2 separate regions of the Homo sapiens genome follow, and region 1 is linked to region 2. The links are contacts of gene promoters, found by promoter capture Hi-C in blood cells and fetal thymus (Javierre and others, 2016). All regions are on one chromosome and are shown on one strand. The core of a region is centred on a gene start or on the middle of the fragment in contact, and the rest is flanking DNA. Distances in the headings are between cores, read along the strand shown.

The links. Contacts are between HindIII fragments. The CHiCAGO score rates a contact against its expected background, and 5 or more counts as called.
Region 1: a contact is called between a fragment that was not itself captured here and the fragment with the promoter of MAPK1 in region 2, in 3 of 17 cell types (M0 macrophages, endothelial precursors and M2 macrophages). The highest score is 6.2, in M0 macrophages.

Annotation. Positions count from the first base shown.
Region 1 is chr22:21,711,017-21,715,424 of GRCh38, forward strand. All of the region lies in intron 1 of YPEL1 (yippee like 1), which reads right to left. Among named protein-coding and RNA genes, the nearest start is that of YPEL1, 23 kb to the right of the region's middle. RefSeq lists enhancers at 1-226, 2,595-2,644 and a silencer at 2,853-3,011. The HindIII fragment of the contact is 3,252 bases long and covers 770-4,021 here.
Region 2 is chr22:21,866,395-21,870,683 of GRCh38, forward strand. It overlaps MAPK1 (mitogen-activated protein kinase 1), which reads right to left and starts at 1,251. Exons shown (of 9, transcript NM_002745.5): 1 at 928-1,251. The coding sequence starts at 1,046. RefSeq lists a silencer at 1,182-1,421. The HindIII fragment of the contact is 41,836 bases long and covers 1-4,289 here.

The DNA.
Region 1 (4,408 bases), core at 1,146-3,645, 150 kb before region 2:
AGGACTAGAATTTTTTTTTTTTTTTGAGATGGAGTCTCACTCTGTTGCCCAGGCTGGAGTGCAGTGGCGCAATCTCAGCTCGCTGCAACCTCCTCCTCCTGGGTTCAAGCGATTCTTCTACCTCAGCCTCTGAGTAGCTGGGATTACAGGAACACGCCACCAAGCCTGGCCTCCCAAAGTGCTGGGATTACAAGCACCACTGCGCCTGACCAAGATCCAACTCTTTAGTATCAATTGTAGACAAAATGAACACTGACACCATGCCACTGCTTAACCACTTTACATTTAGTTGGAAGTGAAAAAATGAACTCCTTTTACATGCAAATAATTTGAGAAAAACATTGATTCAAATTCTTCTTATACCAGGTTTGGCTTTGGAAACATGAAAGGAGAGGCAGAACCAAGACGCCCGGTGAGTGGGCCCGGTGGCAGGGCTGGATGCACCCCACCCCGAATCCGGGAATTCACCACGCAGAGCACCAGGACATTGAGGAATGTGAGTGATGGATCCAGTATTATTTAATCTTTAAGAAATTCCAGTCCTGAAATAAACCCTTATGTATGGTCACATGATCTTCAACAGGGTGTCAAGACCATTCAATGGGGAAAGGACAGTCTTTCAACAAATGGTGTCACAACAACTGGATATCCACCTGCAAAAATATAAAGTTGGACTCTTACCTAACACCGTATACAAATTAACTCAAAATAAAAGACCTAAATGTGAGAGCTAAGACTATAAAACTCTTAGAAGGAAACACAGGGGAAAAGCTTCATGACATTGGATGTGGCAATCATCTCTTGGATACGATACCAAAAGCATGGGCAGCAAAAGAAAAACAGACACATTAGACTTCGTAAAAATTCAAAACTTCTGGCTCGGTGCAGTGCTCACGCCTGTGGTCCCAGCACTTTGGGAGGCTGAGGTGGGTGGACCACTTGAGCCCAGGAACTCAAAACCAGCCTGGGCAACAAAGCAATACCTCATCTCAACTAAAAATACACAAAATTAGCTGGGTGTGGTCCCTGTGCCTGTGGTCCCAGCTACTTGGGATAGCTGAGGTGGGAGGATGGCTTGAGCCTGGGAAGTTGAGGCTCAAGTGAGCTGAGATCGTCCAACTGCACTCCAGCCTGAGCAACAGAGTGAAACCCTGTCTCTAAATAAATAAATAAAAACTTTTGTGCTTCAAAGGATACTATCAACAGAGGCAACCCAGAGAATGAGGGAAAATATTTTTAAATCATATACCTGATAAGGTGTTAATATCTAGAATACATATATTCTATATTCTCTCTATACATATTCTCTATATATCCATATTCTCTATATATCCTAGTTATTGGAATATGTAAAAAAAAAAAAAAAAAACAACTACAACTCAGCAAATCAAACAAACAGGTTAAAAAATGGATAAAGGGCCGGGTATGGGCCCGGCGTGGTGGCTCACGCCTGTAATCCCAGCATTATGGGAGGCCGAAGAAGGTGGATCACTAGGTCAGGAGATCGAGACCACCCTAGTCAACATGGCGAAACCCCGTCTCTACTAAAAATACAAAAAATTAGCCGGGCGTGGTGGCGGGTGCTTGTAGTCCCAGCTACTTGGGAGGCCGAGGCAGCAGAATTGCTTGAACCCAGGAGGCAGCGGTTGCAGTGAGCCGAGACCATATCACTGCACTCCAGCCTGGGCGACAGAGTGAGACTACATCTCAAAAAAAAAAAAAAAAGGAAAATGGATAAAGGACCTATGTATCTATATTCTCTATATATTCTAGTTGTTAGAATATGTTAAAAAAAACTCAGCAAAAAGAAACACAATCTGATTAAAAAATGGACAAAGGACCTATATATCTATATTCTATATAGTTATTAGAATATATTTAAGAAACTCCTACAACTCAACAAAACAACCCCAATCTGATTAAAAATGGACAAAGGACTTATATAAACATTTCTCCGAAGAAGATATACAGATGGCCCACAAGCACGTGAAAAGGTGCTCCATGTCACTGATCCTGAGGGAGGCAGACAAGGACCACGTTGAGACACCACCACACACCCTCTAGGACGGCTACTATCAACGCGCACACACGGAAAATAAGCGTTGGTGAGGATGTGGAGGAATTGGAGCCTTGTGCATTGAGGGTAAAAATGTAAAATGCTGGAGGCACTATGGGAAACAGTATGGTAATTCCTCAAAAAACGAAATATAGAATTACCATGGGCTCCAGCAATTCCACTGCTGGGTATAAATCCACGAGAACTGAAAACAGGGTCTCAAAGCCATGTCTGCACACCCATGCTCACAGCGACATTATCCACAACAGCCACGAGGGGGAAGCAACAGTGTGTCCCTCCACAAACGGGCATTCTCATGATCAAAATGTGGCGTCTGCATACAGTGGAATGTTATCCAGCCTTTAACAGGAGGGGGCTCCTGTCACAGCTACAGCATGGAGGAACCCTGAGGACACTATGCTCAGTGAAGTAAGCCAGTCACAAAGGACAAATATTGTATGAGGTACTTAGAGTAGTGGGACTCAGAGACAGAAAGAGCTGCCAGGGGCAGGGGAGTCCCCGCTTCATGGGTGCAGTGTTTCAGTTTTGCAACATGAAGAATTCTGGAGGTTGGAGGGTGGCGATGGCTGTACAAAAATGTGAATATATTTAATGTCACTGAACTGTACACTTAGAAATGGTTAAGATGGTAAGAGTTATGTGTACTGACTACAATTATTTTAAAGAAGAGTGTATCATTTTTACATTTCTAAGGTCTCATTAACAAAAGAAGGTTAAGTCCATGACTGATGCTGCCATCATCAGCAACAGGACGTGCGCCAAGTTTTCCTGGTGGCACCACCCCAGCCTGGCCTGTGACAAGGGGCCTGCAGAGAGTCAGGCACACCGGATTTTCTTTCAGGCCAAACAGAAGAGCAAGGGTTTCCCCAAATTCGAGAGCACGGGGCTGGGAAGAAGAGCCAAGCGCCAGCAGTGTCCTCACACCTGCTCCTCCTGAGATGCACCCCCCACCGCCCCCCACCCCATGTGACCTCTGCTCCGGCAGCAGCCTGTCCTGTGCCCTTCCATGGGATGACACCCAGGACGGCGTCTGCCCCCCACCTGCGCAGGCACGCCTGCATTAGAGGGTCACCTTCTCACATCTGGGACTGAAGATGTGTGTGGGCAGAACGCAGCGTTTGTAATCGTGTGAACGGAAGACACAAACGGCCGGTGGCGGCCACCCAGGATGGTACTGGGACCCGGTCACCACGGCGCTGCTGTGCCCTTCCTTGGTGCCCCGGCCTGAGATGCTGCCTAACTTGGACTTGGTGCTTCTTGGTCTTTGCTTGTCCTGATGGCTGTGCCCCGTGTGTGGCCCTGAGCCACACTGCTGCGTGTTCCGTGTTTTGAACTTGACACCGACGATGCTGTGAGACTTCTCTGCTGACGTGCAGCCAAGTCTGCCTCTGTCCCCATGTGCAGCTGGGCCCCCTTCACCTGGTGTCCCGTCAGATACACTGCATGCAGCCACTGACGGGGTGTGGATGTGTATCGGCTCCCAGGCTGGCTACTAAATGGTGCTGCTGTCGCTGTCACCTCTCCTGAGCCGCACAGGCAGGTGTTTCGTTGGAACAATCCCAGGAGCAGATGCCCGTGCACACAGCAGCACCTCCCAAGTGCCGGTGACAAGGTCATCCTGCCAGCAGCGAACATGAGTCCCTGCTGATCTTTATCCCGCCAACTTGATATGGTCAAATTTTAACACTTCTGCTGCCTGGCAGGTATAAGGCAGCAGCATCTCATTGTGGCTTTAATTTGCTTCAACCTGACCATACAGGTGGGCACCTTTTATGATTCCTCCTTTTCAAATCTTTGTCACATTTTCTATTAGCTGCTGGTCCTTTCCTTACTGATTCGTAGGAGTAAGTGATATATTCTGAAAACTAAAGCATACATTAAGCCATATCGGTCGTGGAATGATAAGCATTACTGGAATGTGGACATGACTGTGCCTGTGATGTAAGCTTCAGGAAACTATAGTGTAAGGCATGTATGTATAGTATGTGGATAAATGGATATGCCATATACACACACACACATACATATACATATATGTGTGGATTATGTATGTACATGTGCATTAATGGGTTTCAAGTTCTCTAAAAGAAAAAGTGTAACTAGACAAAAAAACTATTAAGGCTGGGTGTGGTGGCTCACATCTGTAATCCCAGCACTTTGGGAGGCTGAGGCGGGCAGATCGCCAGGTCAGGAGTTCGAGACCATCCTGGCCAACATGGTGAAAACCCCGTCTCTATTAAAAATACAAATATTAGCTGGGCGTGGTGGCGTGCGCCTGTAGTACCAGCTACTCGGGAGGCTGAAGCAGGAGAATCACTTGAACCCGGGAGG
Region 2 (4,289 bases), core at 1-2,500:
AAAAAAAACCGTCACTATCATTTCACTTTTCTAAGGGACCTGAATCAAGATGAGGGAGTCTACGTGTGATTCTGCAAGAACTCCATTAAGGCTGCATACATAATGACCACTAAATCATTAACAGGAGTCCATAGCAATTGGGCTAAAACATCTGGGAGCATTTATGCTGGTAAAAGAGCTCACTTGGGGGCTAAAAAAAAAGTCAAATTAGGCCCAACTCTAAACGGATCTTTAACAAATCAAGAGAGTAATGTTAGTTTATCCTTCCTGAAACGCCAGCAGTACGATATTAAAATCCACTTAGAAGTAAAAACTTCAAGACGGAAATATGCCACCAACACTGGCGTCAGTAATCCATTTTAGAAAGCCTGCGCGGAGACCACCATTAGCACCGCTGAGGATATTTAATGAAAGCCGTTGGCTGCAAACAGAGGCGAAGAGAGAAAAACGATTATTTCGGTGTTCTGCACACACGCGGAGGCAAAACGCTTTCAGGACCTCAGCAGCCACCGCCGCCAACACCGACAAGCATCTGATGGAATTCACAGTTTTACAATCGAAAGTCCAAAAGAAGGCCATGATACTAGCAAATTGAGGGGTGGGGACCCTTCCGTTGCCTTCCCGAGGGTCCAGACTTTAAAGGCCGCGCTGCGCCCGGGGCCAAGGGTCCACTAGTACCGGCCTACGCCCCCCGCGCCACTCCCTGAGCCCCTTCCCGAGCGACCGAAGGCCCGGGAACCGCGAGCAACAACACCTAAACCTCAACCGGCCCGGGGCCGCGCCCGAGCCCTGGCGCGCGGACCGCGGTGAAGTCCGGGTTCGAGGTCGCCGCGGCGCCTGAGGCCGAGGCGCGGGCGAGGCCGAGGCTGCGTCCGCTGCGGCCCCGGGCGGTGGGGGGGCCGGGCGTGGCCGGTCGCGGACACTCACCACACCATGCCGTAGGCGCCCTCGCCGATGTACGAGAGGTTGGTGTAGCGCGGCCCCACGTCGAACACCTGCCCGCGGACCATCTCCGGGCCCGCGCCCGCCGCCGCCGCCGCCGCCATGTTGGCTGCCGGGCCGCCGCCGCCTCCGCCGCGCTGAGCTCGACGCTCGGCGGCCGCCGCTCAGCTCTTGTCGCCCCTCCCGCAGGGACTGCGCCGCCGCCGGTGCAGCCGCCGACGCTGACCGGGAGGAGGAAGGAAGACGCCGAGCGGGAGAGCTGAAGAGCCGACAGCCACTCGGACCGATTGCCTGCCTGCCTGCCAGACTGACGGGCGGGCCGGCGGGCGGGCGGAGGGAGGGGCGCGCGCCGAGGAGGGTGCCGGGGCGGGGACAAGAAGTGTGCATGCGGATTGGTTCCTCGCGGCTGGGGGCGGGGCCGCGCGGGCCGGCGGAAGCGGCGGGCTTCGGGAGGGGCACTGCGACGGCGTTGACTGAGGGGGCGCCACTAGGCGCGGTCACGTGCATTCGCGGTGCATTCGCGGGGGCGTCGGTGCGGGTCGCGTCTCTTAAGACACCCAGGGAGACAGACGTGGGGCAGAACTCATGGGCTGAAGTGAGAGATGGCTGGGGCCCAGGCGAGCGACCGAGCAGGGTCCGAACAGAGCCAGCGAGGGACCCCGGGCTGTGCTTGAGGCCCGACGACGCGCCATATCCCGGCAGCGCCGCAGCTCAGGCCTCTGCGAATCTGTGGTCCACACGCTGATAAACTTAGAGGCCTCTGCACTGGGGCAGAAACCGAAAGGCATGACCCAGACCGAGAAAGATATTTGCATACTGAGAAAGTGTGAAACACAATTGTCGAGACTAAAAGGAGACACTGAGAGGATACGCCAATCAGGTTAGTTCAGATGTTTGTTGAGCACACTCCATGTTCCTGGGGATCCACCCTTATAGAAGTTACCTTTTAGAGAGAGGAGACAGACAAATACGTGTAATGCTCAAGTTGTGATAAGTACGATGAAGAAGTACAAAGCAGAAGGGAGGGCGCGGTGTCTCACGCCTATCATCCCAGCACTTTGGGAGGCCGAGGCGGGCGGATCACTTGAGGTCAGGAGTTTGAGACCAGGTCTCTACTAAAAATACAAAAATTAAGTCCGGGCGAGGTGGCTCACGCCTGTAATCCTAGCACTTTGGGAGGCCGAGGCGGGCGGATCACGAGGTCAGGAGTTCAAGACCAGCCTGGCCAACATGGCGAAACCCTGTCTCTACTAAAAATACAAAAATTAGCCGGGCGCAGTGGTGGGCGCCTGTCATCCCAGCTACTTGGGAGGCTGAGGCAGGAGGACAAAGCAGAGAGTAAGGGATTAGGGGGTGGTGGGTCGAAACACATGAGAGATACATTTGCGTTCAGAGACAGACCGAGATTGGTACAGATAGGCAGAAATGCTGACAGAGCAGGTAATGAAATAGAAATGCAAAGATAGAGTCACTAAAACCAAAACATCGAGGTTTAGAGAAAAAGAGACACACCAGGTTAAGAAACAGTCACAAACAACAGAGGTTGAAAAAATAAAAATTAGAGTCCTGAAGCAGGTGGATACCAAGGAAAGCTAAGACAACGAGACGGACAATGACCCAGGCACTGCTTCTGAACCTTTTCCCCTGCCATGTTTGGAGGGAGAAGGAAGAGCGGCAGACCCTATATCCTCTTTGTTCAACTCTTCCAAGTTTAAAACCATCAACTCTTGACTTCTAGACATCAACAAAGATTAATTAGTCAATCTCAAAGGAGAATAAACAAAGTTTTTTGTTTGTTTGTTTGTTTAACTCTCTGGTGGAAGCTGGTGTGGTGGCTCACGCCTGTAATCCCAACTTGGGCCCAAGAATTCAAGACTAGCCTGGGCAACACAGCAATACCCTGTCTCTAAAACAGAGAAACAAACAAACAAAAAATCCTGTGGGGGAAAAAGGATGTGACACATGAGAAAAGGAATAAACTGCTCCAGCCAAAATTTACTCCTTCAAAATATATTTAGCCCATGAAGCAGGACCCAATTTTAGAAAATACCTAATTCTTGAGTTAATGGGTGCAGCACACCAGCATGGCACATGTATACATATGTAACTAACCAGCACATTGTGCACATGTACCCTAAAACTTAAAGTATAATAATAATAATAAAAAGAAAATACCTAATTCTTATTCTCAAAAGAGGACATTGCATATTTTTTTAAAAAACAGGCCAAGATAAATGGAGTACCATGAAATTAAAACCACAATAACCGGCCGGGCGCGGTGGCTCACGCCTGTAATCCCAGCACTTTGGGAGGCGGAGGAGGGCAGATTGCCCAAGCTCAGAAACTGGGGACCAGCCTGGGCAACATGGTGAAACCCCGTCTCTACTAAGATACAAAAAATTAGCTGGGCCTGCCGGTGTGCCTGTAGTCCCAGCTACTCGGGAGGCTGAGGCAGGAGAATTGCTTGAACTCGGGAGGCAGAGGTTACAGTGAGCTGAGATCGCGCCACTGCACTCCAGCCTGGGCCACAGAGTGAGACTCCGTCTCAAAAAAAAAAAAAAAAAAGAGGCCGGGTGCGGTGGCTCACGCTTGTAATCCCAGCACTTTGGGAGGCCGAGATGGGCGGATCACAAGGTCAGGAGATCGAGACCATCCTGGCTAACATGGTGAAACCTCGTCTCTACTAAAAATACAAAAAAAAAAAAAAAAAAAATTAGCCGGGCGTGGTGGCGAGTGCCTGTAGTCCCACCTACTCCGGAGGCTGAGACAGGAGAATGGCGTCAACCCGGGAGGCGGAGCTTGCAGTGAGCCGAGGTCACGCCACTGCACTCCAACCTGGGTGACAGAGCAAGACTCCGTCTCAAAAAAAAAAAAAAAAAAAGTAGACTTGATGCAGAAGAGTACATCAGCAATATAGAAGATAAACATGAGAAAATTTTCAAGAATATAGAACAAAGTGATGGAATCCTGTAAGAGAAGATAATGGGGATGGACAGCATCTAGGGATTCTAACTCTAGGCATCCCCACAGGAAGACAGAGCAAATCGGTTAGAGCGAATAATCAAAATTACAATAGGAGAAAAGTTTCCTTAGGTTGCAAAAAGGTCTGAGGTGGAGGTGGGAAATAGAGTGGGTTCACTGAGATTGAGAAAAATTAAGAAGAAACCAACAACACATAATCTGGGAAAATCATTAAGTTTCAGGGATAAAGAACAGACACTAATAGACCCAATTAGGGAAAAAAATGTTATTTATAAAAAAGCTGGCCAGCAGGCACGGTGGCTCGTGCCTGTAATCCCAGCACTTTGGGAGGCCGAGGCGGGCGGATCATGAGGTCAGGAGTTCTA